Regions from separate parts of the Homo sapiens genome. Here regions 2 and 3 are each linked to region 1. The links are contacts of gene promoters, found by promoter capture Hi-C in blood cells and fetal thymus (Javierre and others, 2016). All regions are on one chromosome and are shown on one strand. Each heading gives the region's core, a stretch centred on a gene start or on the middle of the fragment in contact. The rest is flanking DNA. Distances are from core to core; before and after follow the strand shown.

Region 1 (4,406 bases), core at 1,288-3,787:
AGTGAGACCCTGTCTCAAAAAAAAAACAACAAAAAAAAGACATTTGCATGCTATTCTCATCCTCTCTACCAGACTATAACTTTCTTTGGAGCAGGGACCACGACTTTATCACTTAACTTTCCCAACAACATTGCAAACATAATCTGAGTGAAGCTGAATCCATCATCTTTTCCAACTCTTGTGTCCCTTAATTATGTTAATAGTACATAATCCTTTCAGTCACTATGGTACAGATCTCAAAGTCATCTCTCCACACACTTGTGGCCTGGGCTCAGTCTGCTGCTCAACAGTCACCCCCCCTTTTTTTTCTTTCTTGCTTTTCTCACTGTTGAGTTAAATCTTTCATTCTCTCTCGGGATCTAATTAGCATGCTAGTTTCTATTTTCCCAGCTGATTCAACCCTTTCACTTCCAGAGGAAGCTTTCTAAATTACAGTATTGGCCCAGCGTGGTGGCTCACGCCTGTAATCCCAACACTTTGGGAGGCCAAAGTGTGTGGACCACTTGAGGCCAAGAGTTCGAGGCCAGCCTGGCCAACATGGTGAAACCATCCCTAGTAAAAATACAAAAATGAGCTGGGCATGGTAGTGCACACCTGTAATTCCAGCTACTTGGGAGGCTGAGGCAGGAGAATCGCTTGAACGTGGGAGGTAGAGGTTGCAGTGAGCCGCAACCACCCCACTGCACTCCAGCCTGGGTGACTGAGTAGAGACTCTGTCTCAACAACAACAAAAAAGTGCAGTATTTTACTCTCCTAATAATTTTTTAAATGTCTTACCAAAAAAAGTAAAAATTCCTTAGTATGGCACTCCCCAACAGTTTTTCAGTTCTATTTCCTGTAAAGCTTGCACACACATCCAACCCTGTGGTCACACTGAACTACTGAATATTCCTAGGATTTGTCCCTTGTTCCACTCGTATGTCTTTGTTCACGTTCCTTTCATTTTGCCATTCAGGAGTAACCACTCCTTTCTCTGAACTCTTGGAGTACCTAATACCTCCTTTCCAGCATTTACCACTTTCCATTTCCTTCACACAATGTTGTCATCTTCTCTACTAGGCTCTAAGTCCCTTGAGGCAGGGCCTTTGTAGCCTCCACACCAGCTTAGCAACTGATACACAGAGCACTCAGATGTCCGTGCAGGGATCTCTCTATTCTCCACACAACACAGCACCATGCCCTGTTCAGATGCACTAATTATTTGAATGAATAAATGATGTTCCACCCCCACACCCCGGTCTTCTAGCCAATGTAGAGAGAAAGAAAAGAGATACATGTTGAACTGTTTGCACACAAAAGTGACGGGATATGGCACTAATTCTTCATACAGCCTCAAAGGTCACATCTTTTTTTTTTTTTTTTTTTAAGTTTCATTCTTGTCGCCCAGGCTGGAGTTCAATGACACGATCTCGGCTTACTGCAACATCCGCCTCCCGGGTTCAAGTGATTCTCCTGCCTCAGCCTCCCGAAGTAGCTAGGATTATATGCGCCCGCCACCACGCCCAGCTAATTTTTTTGCATTTTTAGTTGAGACGGGGTTTCACCATGTTGGCCAGGCTGGTTTTGAACTCCTGACCGCAGGTGATCCACCCGCCTTGGCCTCCCAAAGTGCTGGGATTACAGGCGTGAGCCACCACGCCCGGCCTAAAGGCCACATCTTAAAACCATACTCTGTAAAATCCTGACCCAGCTTCAGAGCTACGCCACTGCGTTGTTTCCTTTTGAAGCTGAATTCCACTGAACCTATACTTGAACCTTATCTAGAGGACTACAGCGTGTAATTGGGACAATCCCCTTTCTCATTCCTAAGAGGTGATGTGGCCGGGCGGACCTCCAGATTTCCAGCAACTATGACTGGCACTCTCCCCGCGACCAGCAAGTGCCACCTTGTCCTTTGCCTAACGTTGTACAGTTTACGAAATCAACGAACCAACACGTTGATTTCATCTTCCCTGCAAACTGGGGAGACAAGACAAAAATGCTCACCTCCCTAAAAAAACAGATTAGAGGGGAGATGGGGAAGAGAAGAGGCGTGGCTACGAGCTGTGGCGGGGAAGGCGGGTGGAATCCCGGAGCCCGAGCTGGAAACCGTTCCCCGCTCAGCCATGACCCGGGCTGTTTATTCGCATCAGGAGGCGCGGGTGGCTCGCAGAGGGCGAGAAGACCCTTCCCGCTTTCACACTGCAGGCAGCTAAGTCGCCGAGAAAGGCAGCAACTTGACGCCCGACCCCGCCACCCAAACCCGCTCGCTCTGCGACCCCAGAGCAGCCGGCGCCAACCCGTCCCCTTCGCGACTCCGCCGGAAGTCCCGCCTGCACCGCCGCCGCGCCCCATTGGGCCGGGTGCTGGGGCATCCCGGGCGCTGGGTGCCCCGAGCGGCTACGACGAGTCCCAGGTGGGGCCGGGCTCCAGGCCCGCGGGGGAGCGGAGCCGTGCGCCGCAGGCGGGCTCCGTGACGCCGGGTGGGGAACGCCGGGCCGGTGGCGGGACTTCCGCCACGGGACTCGGAAGGGGCCGCGCCGCCGCTGCTGGGAGTTGTAGTCCGGCCGTGGTTGGGGGAGCCGCGGCTCATGCGCGGTGCACAGAGGCTTGTTTCACATCTGTAACAACAGGTGAATTGGGCTTTTTATTCTCCCCTTTCGTGCCCTCTTGAGGAGCCTGCCGCGGCCGGGGGTGGTCGTCGTGAGGAGGGGGCCCGGTCCGACCGCCAGCCTGGCGGAGAGTGGGGCGGAGACGCCGGCGGGCCCGAGGAGCAGGCCGGGCATCCTAGGCCTGCCCGGGAAGCCGGCCCGGCCGATCCGTGGGCAGCCAGGCCTCGGCCTGCCGTTGCCATGGAGCCCGGGCGGGGGCGGGGGCCAGACCGGTCCGCCGGGGCGGGCCTCGCAGCCAGGGGCTCCGCGGAGGCCGTGGGAGAGGCCGCTTCATTGGCGCAACGACGCCTTCGCCTCGGGATGCGCCGTTTCCCCAGGCAGGGCCTGGAGGAAGCCTCCTGAGTGCCCCGAGACCTTTGTCTACTTCTCCTCCTTCCCGGTGCTGCCCGGACCGTTCGTCCAGAGGGAGGCCCGGTGCCTTCTGGCCCCCCTAGTTTGCCCCCTTTTGCACCGACCTTGTCACTGGGGGAGGCCAAGGGGTGAGGTATTCTTTGTTTGCTGGTGGTAACTTGTCCCATTTAGCAGGGGAAGACCAAATGCATGTTGGGTCCTTTGTTTGCAGTGAACTGGAGTCCCAGGGGTCCTCAGAAACCCTAAGCCAGGGATATGGCATATCTAGTCGTTGTGTAGCAACATTGGTCACTTGAATTATGATTTTTCAAGGCAGAGGCTGTTTCACTTTACAACCCCACTCCATGAGGGTTTGCCATACACTAGCAGGTAGACTGCAGAAGGCCACTTACAGGCTTTCAACCTGGTTTTAGTTGCAGCTTATGGGCCAGAGTGAAATGAGACGTTGTCTGGTGATTTCCCTTGAAGTTTCTTGCAAGGTGGTAACCCCACTGTCATTGTGGGTTTTAACTACATCTTGTAATTTACACTTAAATCTTAGAGATTTAAGGCGATGTGCAGAAACTACATCCTTTGCTGCGTTTTCTACCGGTGTTGGCTCTTTATCCCTAAAAGATAGTTGCTCTTCAAGTGTTTTAATTTATGTAGCTGTGATACAAAGTTTTATTAGGGCCGGGAGCGGTGTCTCACGCCTGTAATCCCAGCACTTTGGGAGGCCGAGGCGGGTGGATCACCTGAGGTCAGAAGTTTGAGACCAGCCTGGCCAACATGGCTAGACCTCGTTTCTACTAAAAATACAAAAATTAGCCGGGCATGGTGGCGTGCGCCTGTAACCCTAGCTACTTGGGAGGCTGAGGCAAGAGAATTGCTTGAACCCAGGAGGCCGAGGTTGCAGTGAGCCAAGATCGCGCCATTTCACCCCAGCCTGGGCAACAAGAGCGAAACTCCTTCTCAAAACAAAACAAAACAAAAACCACACACAAGTTTTATTAGCTGTTGGACCTTTCTTGCCCCTTTCAGCCTTTGAAGATAACAGTATAATATGTCTCAAGGAATGAACCGTAGTACATTTAGGCAACAGCATAATATCCTGGAAATAAGAAAATTAGCCTAGTATAAGCATGGAGGGTTTTGGAGTCAGCATGCTTCAATGCTGATTTCCATCTGCCCTGAGGCAGCTATGGGATCTTGGGCAGGTTGTGTAACCTGTGCTTCAGTTTTCTTCTCTGGAAAGATAATTCCTACCTCACTGGATAGTTGCCTGGATTAAATGGGGTAAAGTCTATGGAAGTATGTTGTGAACTGTAAAAATGGTATTCAACTTTGAGTTATTGTTATTTTCCCAATCTTGAAGAGTATTATAGCTTCTTTATGTTAGATTATCATAATTATTATGGGATTAGA
Region 2 (4,327 bases), core at 245-2,744, 190 kb after region 1:
AAATTTATGGTGAAGCTTGGATGAAAGAATGGTGAAATCACTGATGCTTTGTGTAAAGTTTATGGGGACAATGCCCCAAACAAATCAGTAGTTTACACATGAATAACTTGTTTTAAGACATCAGCCAGATGCAGTGGTCCGCACCTATAGTCCCAGCTACTTGGAAGGCTGAGACAGGAGGATCACTTGAGCCCAGGAGTTCAAGGCTGTAGTGTGCTATGGTTACACCTGTAAATAGTCACTATACTCTAATTTGGGCAATGTAGTAAGACTCTGTCTCAAAAAAAGAAAAAAAATAAAGGAGGAGATGATGTTGAAGATGAAGCCCACCGTGGCAGACCACCAATATCAATTTGAGAGGAAAAAAGAATGATCTAATTGAAGAGGATTGACAATTAGCAGAAACAATAGCCAATACCACAGACATCTCAATTGGTTCAGTTTATACAATTTTGGCTGATAAATTAAAATTGAGCAAACTTTCCACTCAACTGGTGCCAAAATGGTTGCATCCAGATGAGCTGCAAAGAGCAGAGCTTTCGATGTAAATTTTAAACAAGTGGGATCAAGATCCTGAAGCATTTCTTTGAAGAATTGTAACAGGAGATGAAATATGGTTTTACCAGTATAATCCTAAAGACAAAGCACAATCAAAGCAATGGCTACCAAGAGGCGTAAGTGCTGTAGTCAAAGCAAAAGTGGATCAGTCAAGAGCAAACACAAGAGTTTTTTAGGATGCTCAAAGCACTTTGTCTGTTGACTTTCTGGAGAGCCAAAGAATGACAACATCTTATTATGAGGGTGTTTTGAGAAAGTCAGCCAATGCTTTAGCAGAAAAACAGCCAGGAAAGCTTCATCAGAGAGTCCTTCTCCACCAGGACAATGCTCCTGTTCATTCCTTTCATCAACAAAGATAATTTGTGACAGTTTTGATGAGAAATCATTAGGCAACCACCTTACAACAGTCCTGATTTGGTTCCTTCTTTTTTGTTTCCTAATCTTTAAAAAAATCTTTGGTAGCAACAAAAAATTAAAAACTTAAACCAAAAAAAACTTTAAAGGGCATCCATTTTTCTTCATTTCTTCATTTTTCTTCATTTAATAATGTAAAAAAGCCAGGCACAGTGGCTCACACCTATAATCCCAGCACAAAAGAAAAACAAATATTTACTCCAAAAAATTTGGATTCCTTAATGGAAAACGGGAAAATCTATTCTCTCTTAATCCATAATGCACGGTGGAGACATTTGTTCTTTGACTGACTAACATAAACAAAGAAAACCTAGTATGAAGAAAGGAATGATAAGATGTAAATATGGTAGCAACTAGTCATGGTTGAGATGCTCTTCCCATCCTAATATTAACTTACCCTCATCAGTCATAGGTGAAAGAAGCTAGCTGCTTTTCGTTTTCTAATTTCCTTTAACTGTGCATTGTTTCCATCATCTGGGAATGAGCCTAGGTGGATAAGGACAGTGAGGTGGTAGCAGTAGATTTTCTTGTGCTTCATCTTGAGTTATTTGATCCATGTAACATTAACTTGGCCCAAGAGGAGGAAAGTTTTTAAGACATTATTTTATTTATAAAAAATTAAATCCTCCCTGCTACTTTTGATATGTAAATGGTGGCTCATGCCTGTAATCCCAGCACTTTGGGAGGCCAAGGCAAGTGGATCACCTGAGGTCAGGAGTTTGAGACCAGCCTGGCCAACAGGGCGAAACCCCATCTCTACTAAAAATACAAAAATTAGCCAGGCATGGTGGTGCAGGCCTGTAATCCCAGCTACTGGGGTGTTGAGGCAGGAGGATCGCTTGAACCTGGGAGGCGGAGGATGCAGTGAGCAGAGATCGTGCCACTGCACTCCAGCCTGTGCAATAGAGCGGGACTCCATCTCAAAAAAAAAAAAAAAAAGTTCATTAACTCAGAAAGACTACTCCAGAAATTGGCGAGTGGTTACTCCAGGAAGGAGAACTGTCTGGCTAGGGTGTAGGGATTGGGAGAATTTGTTTTACCGTACATCCCTTTGGACCAATTGGATTTTGTACATGTGTATTTTTTAGCCTGTTCAAAAAATGTATGAGTTTCTGGAAAATTGAATTAAAGGATAAAAATAAAATATGAACTTTACTTCTCAACATAAGCTTTTGCAACATCAAGATACTTTTGTAAGCAATGATAGCAACTTTTTTTCTTTTCTTTTTTTTTTTTTTTTTTGAGACAGAGTCTCGTTCTCTCGCCCAGGCTGGAGTGCAGTGGCACGCTCTCCACTCACTGCCACCTCCGCCTCCCAGGTTCAAGTGATTCTTGTACCTCAGCCTCCTGAGTACCTGGGATTACAGGTGCACACCATTACCCCTGGCTAATTTTTGTATTTTTAGTAGAGGTATGGTTTCACCATGTTGGCCAGGCTGGTCTCAAACTCCTGACCTCAGGTGAGCCACCTGCCTTGGTCTCCCAAAGTGCTGGGATTACAGGCGTGAGCCACTGCACCTGGTCTGGAGTAAATATTTATATGGATATAATTAGAACTCTCGGTACTTTTTTAAATGAGTTGTGGTCTGCCCCCCCTCCCCAACACACAAATTAAACATATATTAAGGAAGCAGGTTTTCTTCTTCCACTTGGCTGTAGAAAGCCAAAAGCAACGTCACTCCCACCCTAACAACAAGAAACAGCCATATCAACTACAAAAAACTTGAATTAATTGGAAAGCCACCTAGTAGTATGAAATCCAAAGAAAAACAAGCCCCTCCAGGAAATATGGGAGGTGAACACCAGCTCTCCTGTATCAGAGCATGTGCAGAAGAGACATTGGGTACCCTACAAGCAGGTAAGAAAAATTCAAGTAAAAATTGTAGTGATTTGTCAAAGGTAAATGAAGGCTAGCATGAGACTATGGGGCCCCTCAAATCCACAGACACAAAGGGAATTCACACTCATTTGCAGGATTGTCTTCACAGATGTCTGCCGCATGCTCACAGGAAAGATTGGAAGCAGGGTGAGGGACCAGACAGAGCCTCCCTCCATGGTACAGACCTGGAGAAGGCCACCACCATTAAGGGAAAAGCATGAACCCCTCCCACTGGGATCTTTCTCTCCTGGGGAAGGAGTACAAACCCTGTCAACCCCAGAGCACACAAGAAGACCGGCTGTAGCTAGGGAAAGAGTAATAGAAACATACTTTATAAACCTGAGAGAGGAGCAAGAAAAACTCCTCATCCAGGATCCTACACCAATACCATGAGAAGACGCTACTACTGTGAAAAGGATAATAACGTTGAGAAAGACCCAAACCGTGAGATTAAGCACAGGATTAAGCACAAAATGGGACAATAAAAAAACAAACTCTGCCTGCCACCTGGCTAGAACTCTTCCGATAAGAGAGAAAAGAGCATGGACAAGGACCCCTCTGAGGCACGGGTACACAGGGAAGGCTGAAAGAGTGGAGCAAGCACATTAAAGAAATACCTTCCAGGGCCTCAGTCCCCACTCTAAGCATAGAATTAAAGGGATTGAAGACAGTAGTACACTGAAGGCAATTACGGTAATGACAAAACCCAAAACTAGCTCAGCTCCTGTTAAAATGACTAAACCCAAGAGACATGCCTATTTCCAACCATAACACCTTTTGGCCTCAGCCTACTATTTTACATGTGAGATCCAGCATTCAATCAAAAACTAAGACACACACACACACACACACACACACACACACACAGAGCAATCAGACTGAGAGATGACCCAGATTTTCAAATTATCACACAGAGATTTAAAACAACTATGATTAATATGTTAAAGTCTACAGTAGAAAAGGTGGAAAACATAGGTGAACAGATGGGAAATTTTGACAGAAATAAGGAAGCTTATAAGAGAGGCAAACAGAAATGCTAGAAATTAAAAACATAAAAAATGCTAAAGTAGATAATGCCACTGAAAGCTCATCATTAGATTCAACACAACTATGAAAAGATCAGGGAATTGGAAGATAGGTCAAAAGAAAGTACCCAAAGTAAAACACAAACAGAAATAAAGAGAGAAAAAAACCAACAATGCATCCAAGAGATACAGGACACTATCCAACAATTTAACAAAAATATAATTGGAATCCCAGGAGAAAAGAAAAAGAATGGGGCAGAAGAAATATTTTAAAAGATAATGGCCAAAAATTTCCCAGCTGACTTAACCACTTCAAAAGCACAGATCAAGAAGCTCAGAAAAGCCCAAGAAGAAAACTTCCAAAATATCATCTAAACACAACATATTTAAACTGCTAAAAAAAAAAAAAAAAAAAGATAAAATCTTAAAGGCAGACACAAAGAGGAATTCA
Region 3 (3,922 bases), core at 1,154-3,653, 220 kb before region 1:
TTTTTTTTTTTTTTTGAGATGGAGTTTCACTTTGTCACCCAGGCTGGAGGGCAGTGGCACGATCTTGGCTCACTGCAACCTCCACCCTCCGGGTTCAAATGATTCTCCTTCCTCAGCCTCCTGAGTAGCTGGGACTACAGGTGCCTGCCACCGCGCCCAGCTAATTTTTTGTATTTTTAGTAGAGATGGGGTTTCACCAACTTGGCCAGGCTGGTCTTGAACTCCTGACCTTAGGAGATCCGCCTGCCTCAGCCTCCCAAAGTGCTGGGATTACAGGCGTGAGCCAACGCGCCCGGCTACGCTGCCCTCTGTTGAGTCGGCCTCACATACACTCTTCAGTGTCCCTATGCACCTGCCTGCCATGCCCTTACCTGCAGAAGGCCCCTATGTTCTCCACCAGGTAGCACTGGCCGCCATTGTGACAGTAACTTGGGAAGAGGTCGCACACTGACCGGCAGGAGCCGTTATGCCGCACAAAGCCACTGCGGCACTCAGTGCCATTTTCACTGGAGGCCAAGTCCCTGCCTGGCTCTCCTGGGCGGGGCCTGAGGGCGATGCTGCTGCCGGGGACCGACCCCAGAGTGTGCTGTGGAGGGACAGCATGCCACCGACTGGTGGGCTGGCCTGTCCCGGGCCCCAGACCAGGCTTCCCAGTGGGCACTAGAAGCTCATTTTCATCTTCTAGGTCTCCACCTCCTACTGCATCTTTGTCATCCTCCTCTTCCTCCTCCTCTTCATCCAAGTCATCATAAAAGGATGTGGTGGGGTAGAAATCAGATTCATCGAAGGGGGTGAAATCATCGTATAAGTCAAGCAGGCTCCAGGAAGGGGTCTCTCCCTCAGTATCAGGGTGGTTCTCTGAGGTTCCTGGTGACCCTGGGAAGCTCCCCAGATCTGCGCCACGACCCTCACCATCCAGTCCTTCGAAGTAGTCGATGTCAATGATATCTGATGCCGGTTGGGGCTCCAGGGTGCCCTGAAATGGGTAAGTCAGCTCTGGCCCTTGAGGGTCGGGTGTGCTGCCCCCCAGGTTCAGCCAAACCTCCAAGGGGCTCTCCTTGGGGAGTTCAGAAGCTGGGCTCAGCTTGTCGCCGGGGGTGGGGGAGGGTGGCCCGCTGGCCTCTGTAGCCTCAGGAATGGCAGGGGGCATGATTGACTGCCCGAGGACCTCGTGGGGAGCCTGGAGCGTAGCTGGAAGGGCCTGGGCATCGCCGCTGCCCGCCTCTGCGGTCACTCCTCCCAGGCCTGGGCTGTCAGCTTCCAGCCAGGCGGTGCCGGTCACCGCAGCCGACTCCTGCAGCACCTCTTCTGGCCCGGCCAGCTCGCCACCGGGCGCCGTCCACGACGCCTCATCTTCCCCAGCCGCTGGTGGGCCGGCTTCTTCCCGCGTGTCGTTGGCAGGCGGCTCCCACGCCGGGCTGCCCTTCACCAGCTCTTCGGCCTCAACCGCGCTGCCCGCCTCACGCGCTGCGGGCGGGAGGGCAAGGGGCGGGACGTCAGGGCGGCGCGCTGAGGAGCCCTGGAGCCCCGGCCCGCCCCGGTCAGGCCCGCTCGCCTAGACCTGGTCAACCCAGACCTCGCCACCCTCAGACCCCACCGCCCCAGTGTGACCCCAGCCACCCGGTACCTCTAAGCCCCGTCCCGGAGTCTGCCCCCAAGACGAGGATCACACCCCGCCCAACGCCTCGCGGCTCGGCCCCGCCCGACCTGCCCCGCCGTCTGAAGAGCCAGGCCAGGGCGGCCCCCAGCTCGGCCCACCCATAAGTCTCACCCTCGGGAACCCACCCTGAGCCGCGTCCACTGGCTCCCGCCCTCAGCTCCAGGTCCCGCCCCGAAGTCTCACCCTCAGGCCCCGCCCCGGCCCCGCCCCGGCCCCGCCCCCGGCCCCGCCCCCAGTCCGCACCGCGGCCCGCGCGCTTGGGTCCCGGCTACCCCAACCGGGGTCGGCCCCCACGCGGGTCGGCCTTTCCCGGACCCCCACCACCTCCTGGGACCATTCCGCCGCCCGGCCGCGGCCAGGCGGTGCCCCGCCCCCTTGCCACAGCTCACAGCTCCACCTGTCCCCGCCGCCAGCGGGACCCCTGCCCTGGGTGGGGCACGAGGGCCGCGGGGGTCCCGGGCGCAGTCATACCTACCCGGCACGGCCCCAGAGGCCAGGACCAGCGCGGCCCCCAGAAACAGCAGCAGTGGCGGCGGCCCCCGGCCCGGGCCCCCGCCCCCGGCTCGCCCCATGGCGCGGCGCCCCGACCGCTGTCCGCGGTCCGCCCGGCTGGCTGCGCCCTCGGCTCGCCCGGCCGCCGCGCCTCCCGCCGGTTCTGCGGCCGCCTCAGCCCACGATGGGCAGCGCGAGGAGCCGCATGCCGCCGCCGCCGCCGTCCGCCGCTGTCCCCGGCGCGCCGCGCCTCCCCGCCTCCCGCGCCGCCGCTGCCGCCGCTGCGCTCAGCGCCGCCCTCACCCCGCCCGCCGCGCCGGCCCCGCCGCACGTAGCGGTGACGCCGGCCCCTTGGTCAGCCTGCCAGGGGAACAGACAGACCCCTCGCTGGGGACTAGGAGACACACGGACGGGGAGTGCGGGGCAGGCGGACGGGGAGCGCGAGGCAGGCGCACGGCGCGGCGCGCGGCGTTAGGCGGCAGGTGCACGGGCGGGAGACCTGTGGGATGGGGCCACGGTCCCGCCCCAGGTGAACAGGCGGCACGGGGCCCCGACCCGGAGGAACCCACCCGCCACGCGGCAAGCACGGAGGCGGGGACGTCGCGGGCCCAGTTACCCGCAGGGTCGGGGCGGGGTCCAGAAGAGCCGCAGGGGGCGGAAGCACGAGCCCCCACTGTGGAAACAAGCCAGGCCCGGGGCGCATGGAGCCTCTCGGATTCTGCACCAATCCCGTGTTCCGGGCGGGAAGGCTCTCAGGGAGGTCTCCGGGTCTCCACGAGGGAGGGGCGGGCGTTGGCAGAGCCTGGCAAGGGGGCGAAGCCGACCGCCCAGGCTCTAATCGGATCAGATCTAATCCGTTCGCAGCCAAAGCCACTAGCCTAGATCTCGCACAGCCAGGCCCGCCATAACGCATCCCGGGAGCAAGGGGTAAGACCCTCCCTGGGACTGCGGCTACCTCGCCTTCCTTCTAGTCTCCGGGCAGCCTGGGGAGCGGCCTTTAATCCTGGTCCCTTCTCCGGGATACGTCGTCCCCCAGGTGTCTCAGACCACCAAAACTCAGGTTCCTGGGTAGACCAGGGGGGTCTAGATCCCCAGCCGGGCACACATGGATGCTTGGCTTTAGAGTGATCTGTGGGGCCCATTCACAGCTTCAGGGCTCACAGGGCAACCCAAGACCACGCACCAGGAGGTCTGCTTAGTCGGCAGGAGGAACCGCAACCTAGTTACTTAGTTTATTCCCCCAAACCGACCGTCTACCCCTTAATGTGTTACTCACCCAAATGACAGTTCAGGGTATCAGCCCAAGGAGATAGGACAACTCCAGTATTTAAGAGACGGTCCCATTGCTGTCTTAGAAGACCAAATAAGTGACCAAGATGGAGATTCTATCTCCTAATCTTTCTGATACATATCTCCAGATGGAGTTGCCTTGGTTCAAAACCTGTTTCTCAGCAGAACTATGGCTGCAGCCTATTTGCCTAGCCTAGCGTCTCCACCTCTCCTGCCTGGTAAACTCCTCATGCCAGAAAAACTCAGTTCTTATCACCTTTCCCTCTATGAAGGCTTCTCAGCAGTTACACTTAATGCCCATCATCTCATCTTATCTACAGTTATTCCTCACTGGACTGCAAGGCACTTGAGTGCACAGGGCTGGTAACAGAGGGAGGCTCCATATCAGACAGGCATAAATGAACGAATGGCAACCACCCACACCCATCCCAGAACTGTGGTCTGGAGAGCCTTGAAAAAAGGGGTAAGGCTCTTTCTTTC

Evidence for each region. The method cuts DNA at HindIII sites, captures the fragments that hold promoters and counts their contacts. A CHiCAGO score of 5 or more calls a contact.
Region 2: a contact is called between a fragment that was not itself captured here and the fragment with the promoter of DHX30 in region 1, in 1 of 17 cell types (megakaryocytes). The highest score is 6.4, in megakaryocytes.
Region 3: the fragment with the promoter of CSPG5 here is called in contact with the fragment with the promoter of DHX30 in region 1 in 3 of 17 cell types (endothelial precursors, M0 macrophages and erythroblasts); the score reaches 6.7 in endothelial precursors.

The regions. Positions count from the first base shown.
Region 1 is chr3:47,800,601-47,805,006 of GRCh38, forward strand. DHX30 (DExH-box helicase 30) reads left to right here and starts at 2,538. Exons shown (of 22, transcript NM_138615.3): 1 at 2,538-2,612. RefSeq lists silencers at 2,109-2,958, 4,136-4,332 and an enhancer at 2,683-3,208. The HindIII fragment of the contact is 8,641 bases long and covers 842-4,406 here.
Region 2 is chr3:47,993,055-47,997,381 of GRCh38, forward strand. The region is part of intron 2 of MAP4 (microtubule associated protein 4); the gene reads right to left. Among named protein-coding and RNA genes, the nearest start is that of MAP4, 21 kb to the right of the region's middle. The HindIII fragment of the contact is 1,290 bases long and covers 850-2,139 here.
Region 3 is chr3:47,576,462-47,580,383 of GRCh38, forward strand. CSPG5 (chondroitin sulfate proteoglycan 5) reads right to left here and starts at 2,404. Exons shown (of 5, transcript NM_006574.4): 1 at 2,136-2,404; 2 at 372-1,467. The coding sequence starts at 2,232. RefSeq lists silencers at 1-12, 1,615-1,704, 1,755-1,814, 1,855-1,904 and an enhancer at 3,029-3,733. The HindIII fragment of the contact is 13,333 bases long and covers 1-3,922 here.